Regions from separate parts of the Homo sapiens genome. Here region 1 is linked to region 2. Evidence: promoter capture Hi-C in human tissues and cell types (Jung and others, 2019). All regions are on one chromosome and are shown on one strand. The core of a region is centred on a gene start or on the middle of the fragment in contact, and the rest is flanking DNA. Distances in the headings are between cores, read along the strand shown.

Region 1 (3,685 bases), core at 46-2,545, 92 kb before region 2:
AAGTGATGGGATCGCTTCCAAGATTAGGTCATAGAAAGACTGATGCCTGTCCTTTCCTGCTCTGCCGTACTCTTTCCCTCTCTCTCAGAACTCTCTGAATTAGAGGTATCCAGCTGAACTTCACCCAGATTCCAGACTCACAGAAACTGTGACATGATACATGCTTGTTGTTTCAAGCTGCCAAGATTTAGAGCAATCTGTTTTGCAGAAATAGGTAACAAATAGACTATATGATTGGCCCAATGTAAAAGAGGCTTGAAGTGTCATGTCCGGGTCAAGAAAGTTGTCAAAGATTTTCCACCTTTATTCAGTGTCACAGACCATCCCAGATTTCCCAAGAAGGTGATGGCACACGTGTTTGTTGGCTACTGTTACACTACTGTGACTGTGAGAAGATTCTTCCTTATAACGAACTGAAGTCCTTCAAGCTGGCATTAACTCTTCCTGTTGTGGCAAGAGTTGAGAAAAATGAAACAGAGAGGACCTGCACAGAACACAGTGACACAGAACACACTGACAAAAGGCAGCCCACACGACACCTGATAGCAAGAAGAAAAATAATGAGCAGTGTGAGCAAGCCGCTCCAGCAGCGCCCACCAAGCCTCCGGGAAGGCACCCACTCTGTCAGAGGTGTGTCTGGTGAGGAATGGAGGGACGAAAAGAAAATGTGAGCCCATCCACAAAGCACAGGAGGATCTCTCCACAAGGGCAGTGAAGCTCTAGAAATGATAGTCGTGAGGCTGCTACACTTGGAAGCCTCTGAAAGGTACACAGCACAACAGAACAAAACAGTTCAAGAAATGCCAGTCTGCTCAGTCAAGGGGCTCACTGCCAAGGGGGAAACAGACAAGCATTGTCCCAAACCCAGAGAAGCCATAAAACTCCCAGAAATTATAATGTTCTTATAGTAGTTGTTCCTATACAAAAACTAAAAAGCTATCACAGGACACAGTAAAAGAAAACATAGCAAGACAAAGCAAAAATGATAAAAATAGATGGGATTTGACTTCATCTAGCAGCCTCTTGAATTATATTATCAGCTTCTTGGAAAGGGGGGCCCAAGGGTCAAAAGTCAACTTCCATTGGTGTTGCTTACTTATTGCAGGGTGTCTGTCTGACTTTGGGTGTAAATGTTTAAATTCTTTGGCAAATGTGATGAGATTATCTCTTTAATGAGATTATTAGAAGTCAAATAACGTATGGGGAAATCCTGCAAATGAGATATCCCTATATACATGTATATAAGATACTAGTGTAGGTGGCTGTGATACTAATGATAGTAGTAAGGTTGATAATGATAGTGATAATGGTAGTAGCGGTAATGGTAGCTATAAAAGCCCCAATTTAAGAATACTATCCAGATACTGTTTGATCCCAAATACGGTCCTTACGTGACTCCCAAGGTACAGTCAACCTCTATGCTGTGGAAGACATGGATTACTGACTCCCAGTAAGGTCTCCTGCTCACCTTTTACCCAGCAGAGGAGAGAAATGGAGGGCAGTTACACAGCATTAGGCAGCTCTCATTTCTTACCCAGTCGTTCATTCTCCTGGACCTCAAATACGGTTACTGGTGACGGACATGTAGGTGGATTATCATTAATATCTTTAACTTTTACATGAATTTCCAGCGGATATGAAAGTGGTTTTCCGTACTCATCCTTTGCAACTGCATAAAAAACATACTACAACAGGAAAGTCAGAGTTAAGGCAAGACTCACCCACCACCCTCTGTCAAAAGCAGAGAAAATCGTTGTTTCATTTCTATGTCATTTACTCCCTTATTTTTAATTCACTTAGAATTGGAAAATTTTAAAAACTGAGATGGGTCAGAATTATGTGAAAATTATCATGTCTTTGAAAACCAATAATATGCTGGAGTCTGAAATGTGTGTTTTTTTTTTCTTTAAAGTAAAATCCATTTTGCTCTCAACTGTAGATGGGCATAGGACTTTGTCTTGTCGCCTGTGAAACTCTTCTCTTTTACTCACTGCATCCTTTTCTTCTCGGTCCAAGGGCTGAGTCACGTAAATATCTCCTTCCTGGTCAATTGAAAATGGGAATCTTGGCAGCTTCTCTTTGTCAACTAAGGAATATTGTGCACCGGGATCATTCCACCGCACCTACAGGGCCCAAAGTCAGTTGTGAGGAAAGCTGTATTTGGACTGAGAGAACTGGAAAGGAAATAATTTTCTAGTTCTCAATTTGAAATCTCTGACAACCTTGTATGTTTGTGGTTTCTTGTAACAACTGAATTACGTTTTTCACTTTTAACCTAAAATAAGCCTGTTTCCCCCCACCAAGTTATATTGCTCGAAAAAAGCACACCAGGAAATGTTTCTTCTCTAAAGCAATTCTTCACAAACCCTCTACAGGGTTTCTGGGCTGCTTTCTTTTGGAAGTCTGACTGTGAAAGCTTTCTATCCACGAACCATCCATTTAAGAAACAAAATGTACTTTGTGGCTGGCAGTGTCTGAGGACTAAGCCACAATGTATGGTGAGCATCTAATACTCACCAATGAAGATGAACAGGGGCAATAGGGGCCACTCTGAAGTCTTCTCCATGCCATTAAGTAAGACAAATGATACAAAAATAAGGACATTCCTTTCCTAAATATTTAGCCTCAGAGACTTCAGGGATGAGAATAACTGCCAACTCCTAGGGTTGTTTGTAAACAACCTGGCAAAAATAAAAAATAAACACAAGTAAGACCAGTCTACTTGCTATATAGACAGAGCCTGGTCTGATATATTAATAATGTTTACTGAGTTTGCCACATGCCAGACACAATTCTAAACATATTTATGTGTTATATCTCATTTAATCTCCAAACAGTCCTCTGACGTACAGACTACTGTTATCTCTATTTTATAATGAAGAAACTAGGGCACAAAAAATTTAAGCGACTTGCCCAAGGTCCTACTGCTAGTTGAAATTTCCACAGTAAACTATTCTCAGAGCAGCCTGGGAAGATATCACAGCAGCAACTTTGTCCCTTGCTAATTATTTAAGCATCACCCATTGTCCCTGCAGACTACCTTCTTGGTTCTAAAGTGGGCTCCTCTTGTGTTCTAAAAATTCAGTCTGAGTTCCTCTTCCCATCTCCCCCTCCCCCCTCCCCCCTCCCCCTCCTCCCCCTCCTCCCTCCCCTTCTCCCGCTCCTCCTTCCCCCTCTCCCCCTCTCTCTTTCTCCCTCTCTCCTTTTGGGTTTCAGAACACCCAGAGCATTTTTTCCAGACCTGAAAATTGGGTAGGCACTCTAGAATTTTCCCTTGGCAGCCCCAAGGCAACTAAGCATGAGTTCTTTGCAGCATTTACCAATCCCTTTGGGAGTAACCTGAATAATAGCTATGAAGACTTTAGTCTAGGCCCCCAATCAGAAATTCTCATGGTAATGAGTGCTGACATGCTTTCTTTCTAACTGGGAAATCAGAATTCTTCCTGCTGTTCTTCCTTTTTTTTCCCTCCTGAAGTTGAAGTTCATTAATTCAACATTCAATAAATAAATGTCCCTGGGCCCATCCCAATAAATATGATGGAATAGGCCATTCCAGGGCCCCTTAACAATAGTAGCATTAAAAAAAAATTAGGGGAACTACAGACTAGTACTTCTTCATAATAATACCTTTTATATCTAATATTTTTATCTACTTTTACAGATACTGTCTCAGTTAATCTTCACA
Region 2 (3,799 bases), core at 1,002-3,501:
CTAACTTCAGCTCCCAACTCTGTGGGTAAATAAGTCACCCACCCTCACTCTTTCTTCCTGGGCCACCCCTGGTGGAAAGAAGCCCACTGGGGCTGGGACACCTACCTCCCAGCACCTCGCAGTCGCTGTCCATGCTGTCATGCACACCTGCAAAGATGTTGGCCAGAGTGGACTTGCCCACCCCCTGCTCCCCTATGAGCACCACTCGGTAGTAGGTGTTCCCTGACTCAGAGGAGATGACTGAGTCTGTGGAGTCAGAGGACCAGCTTCGGCGGCAGTGGTCCTCAGGGGTAGCAGAATGGCGGTTGCGGTGGCTGTACTGGTGGGGCTCTTTCTGGACCATCAGATGCCTGCCATCAGCTGGGATGCTCCAGCGCTGCTGCTGTGGCTGCATGCCCACAGTGCCCTGGCGCATGGTGACATTATTCAGAGTCATCGTTGAGTCCTGGGGAGCAAAGCAGCCAAGATGGCAGCATTAGTAAGCATGAGTGAGAGCTCCGCTCAAATACATGGTCAGTCATCAGTAATATTTTATTAGATGAGATGAGAAGCAAGTATCCCTAACATAAAGACCACCAATTAAACAGTCCCCCAAACCCCAACAAGACAGGCTTTCAACTGGACACACACATGCTGCCCACACTGTCAGTAACCAGCTCCTCAGGCAGACTATCATTTGCATGGGAAAACAAATACGGTTAACATCACCCACTGCCCATGGGCTTCCCCCTTCCTCAAAGCAGACTTGGATGAAAGAAGAGCTGCACTCAGAGCTGGCACAAAGGCAGCTGGAAAGAACCAGCAGACTCCAAAGATGGCTTGAAAAGCAACAAGTTAATGTTGCTGGGGACCAGCTGGTCAGGTTAGCTGCTCTTGTCTAAACTTGGCTCTTAATTGCACCAGTGTCCAGCAGGTTTTGTGCCTCAGTGGGAAACACGTGGCAATGACATCACCCTCCCCTCCCCTGCCCACTGCAACCCTGGCTGGACTGGACAGGCACTTATTGGAACTTCCATGTTTAGTAAAGTTGCCTTGATGCTCTCCAGCTGCCTGGAGAGCATCCACCTGCCATTATTGGGGGTAGGGGGGAAATTTTCTGTTTAAAGTTTATGCCTCAGCTGTGCCCTCTTACCCACAGATACCACTTTTAAAACATCCCGGCTCCAAACCTAGACACCCTGGCAGAGAAATGACCTGCTCATGTTCAGACCTATGAAATTTGCAGAGAAAGTGCCTCATTCTTAAAAAACCACATCCATTCTCAAGAGTTCTTTAATTCAACTCAGATTCCTTTTTTGAGTCAGGGTCTTGCTCTGTCACCCAGGCTGGAGTGCAGTGGCACGATCATAGCTCACTGTAGCTAGCCTCCAACTGCCAGGCTCAAGAGATCCTCCACTTCAGCCTCCCAAGTAGCTGGGACTACAGACCTGCACTACCACGTCCACTAGTTTTTTTATTTTTATTTTTATTTTTTGGTAGAGACAGTGGCCTCACTATGTTGCCCAGGCTGGTCTCGAACTCCTGGGGTCAAGTGATCCTCCTGCCTCGGCTTCCGAAAGTGCTGAGATCACAGGCCTGAGCCACCATTCTCAGATCCCCTTCTTGAAGCAAATCAGAAGGCTGAAGACTCCCCTAAATGATATTCAACAACTTCTCTACAACTTTCCCTTTGCAGACTGCCTCCCCTAGCCGGGAGGTCTGTTTTTCCGGCTACTGGTGATAAAGTATAAGTACTTACGTTGCAATCAGCAAGATGCACAAACACTCCTCTCCCACCCTCACCCCCACACTCCGTACCCCAACATCTCGCCACTAACCAGGACGACCAGCCGGTTTTTTAGTCTCAAAAGCAGCACCTCAGTTGGCAGACTTACATTCAAACAACAAATACATAAAGCATCATTAAGGGCTGCCCTCTCTGACCACTCGATCTGTAGAGGGAGGTGACCCTTCTACCGAATTGAACTAAGGAACCTGCTGATGAGAAGCGACATCCTTTGCACTTGAAGCTCTGACCCCTACCAGAAAATCCCAGTGCTGAGCGCACGTTCCAGGGGTTCTTTTCTCAACTTCGAAAGTTCTGCGGGCTGGGAAACTCCCACTCTCTCCCTTCTCCGTCTCGGGCCGTCCCCCTTACTTGGCTCGGCCGGATCGGCGTCGGGGCGTCAGCGTATCGCGTGGGTCCGCGCTGGGATACCCGGGCCAACGAGCGGGGAGTGCTGCGCTGTGCCCGCCGTCCTTGCCCGCCGCCTGCAGCCGCCGCGGCCGGGCGGTTTATAACCAGCCCAGCCGACCCGCCGCGGGGCTTTTCCGTGACGTCAGCGCCCCCGCCGGGAGGGGGCGGCTCTGCAGCAAACTCGGAGTTGCAGCCACTTGGCTAAATCAGTTACTCGCAGTCATGTGACCCCTTCTCTCTCCATTTAAAAAATAATGACAGTTCAATCCTGGGCCTCCTTTATTTTGTTTTATTTTCTTTTTACCAGATGAACACAGGAAAATGGAAAAATACACTAAGTGACACTTAATCGTCCTTCCCAGCAAAGCACTTGCGAGCTGTCGGGATAAAGGATGGAAGGGAGAGGCAGGTTTGAGTTGAGAACTCAGTTTTGCCAAGAAAACAGAGATCAACCTGGAATGCGCAGAGACTTTAGCCTCCAGGATGAGACTGCAGCCACCTTGAATAGCCAAGGCTTGTTTTAACCACATCTTCTGCAACGAAGACAGCCTTGTCACCTTCTTCTGGATAGGGGGAAGCAGATGGAGCCCCACAAGGCTTTGTTTCCCTTCTCTGGCAAGGACCCAGAGAGAAGGGGCCAGAAAGAGGTGAGGAAAGAGGACAAGACCTTGAAAAGGGCAGTTTGGAAAAACAATTTAATTGAGGATCCAAGCAGATTGTGCTAAATATTGCTGGCCCTCCTGCTCTGGGCCAGAATGCTGAGGCTCCTCAATCAGGGAATTTAATCAGCATCCCAATCAGCAGCATCTCTGTACCAGGCTCCCTGGCAAGGCTACGCCTTGGGCATGAGCCAATACAGCCTGGCCATGGGGAGGAGCACTGAGACCAACACCCCTGTAAGAGACTCCTGTGAACAAAGGGCACAGGATAATAACTACTACTACCATTTATTAAGTACCTCTGAGGACCTCTGCTTAGTAGGTACTGTTAGGCCTCCTGGGACCTTAATCCTTACTATACTTCTGCAAGGTGGCTCTATTTCTACCCTCATTGTATGGAGGAGGAAGATAACATAGGGCCAGAGAATTTGCCCAAGGTCACACCGCTGGTATAAGTGGCAGGGTCAGGACTCAAAGCCTGGTTTTCCTGAGTCTCTGCACTGCACCACCAAGTGAAGGATTTCAATGACCTCTTTCTGGGGACATGGGTATTTCCCAGATGCTGTGTTTAGAGATGATGCTGGCCTCTCCAACATATCTGCTTTTCCAGCCAGCTTCAACTCTGGGTTGGCTGGTGGCTCCGGGAAGCAGCCAAAGGCACCAGCATCTATTGAAGCAGCTGGACTCTGCTGTGATTAGAGTCAATTCACAGTTATCCTGCAGGCATTTATCTGCTTTGAGAATTAGCTACATGACCAGCTGCTGAGACCTGCCAGGTCCCAAGCTAGCAAAGGTGGAATCCATAGAGTAATGAAAACTTAGAATTCCTTTAGTCTCAGGTGTTGTGGCCCCAATCTCCTACTTATCTTATACATAAGAAACCTGAGACCCAGAGAGGAGATGACCGCTTAGGACATGACAGAACTGGAACTACAACCTGGGGATCATAATTCTCTGGATGCCC

The links. The method cuts DNA at HindIII sites, captures the fragments that hold promoters and counts their contacts. A contact is called where the count stands out against the background at its distance.
Region 1: a contact is called between a fragment that was not itself captured here and the fragment with the promoter of GEM in region 2, in 2 of the 25 tissues and cell types used here (aorta and small bowel).

The regions. Positions count from the first base shown.
Region 1 is chr8:94,168,863-94,172,547 of GRCh38, forward strand. CDH17 (cadherin 17) reads right to left here. Exons shown (of 18, transcript NM_004063.4): 8 at 1,992-2,123; 9 at 1,535-1,685. Among named protein-coding and RNA genes, the nearest start is that of CDH17, 38 kb to the right of the region's middle. The HindIII fragment of the contact is 6,412 bases long and covers 1-3,685 here.
Region 2 is chr8:94,260,068-94,263,866 of GRCh38, forward strand. GEM (GTP binding protein overexpressed in skeletal muscle) reads right to left here and starts at 2,252. Exons shown (of 5, transcript NM_005261.4): 1 at 2,023-2,252; 2 at 106-445. The coding sequence starts at 436. RefSeq lists silencers at 209-352, 1,494-1,563. The HindIII fragment of the contact is 10,611 bases long and covers 1-3,799 here.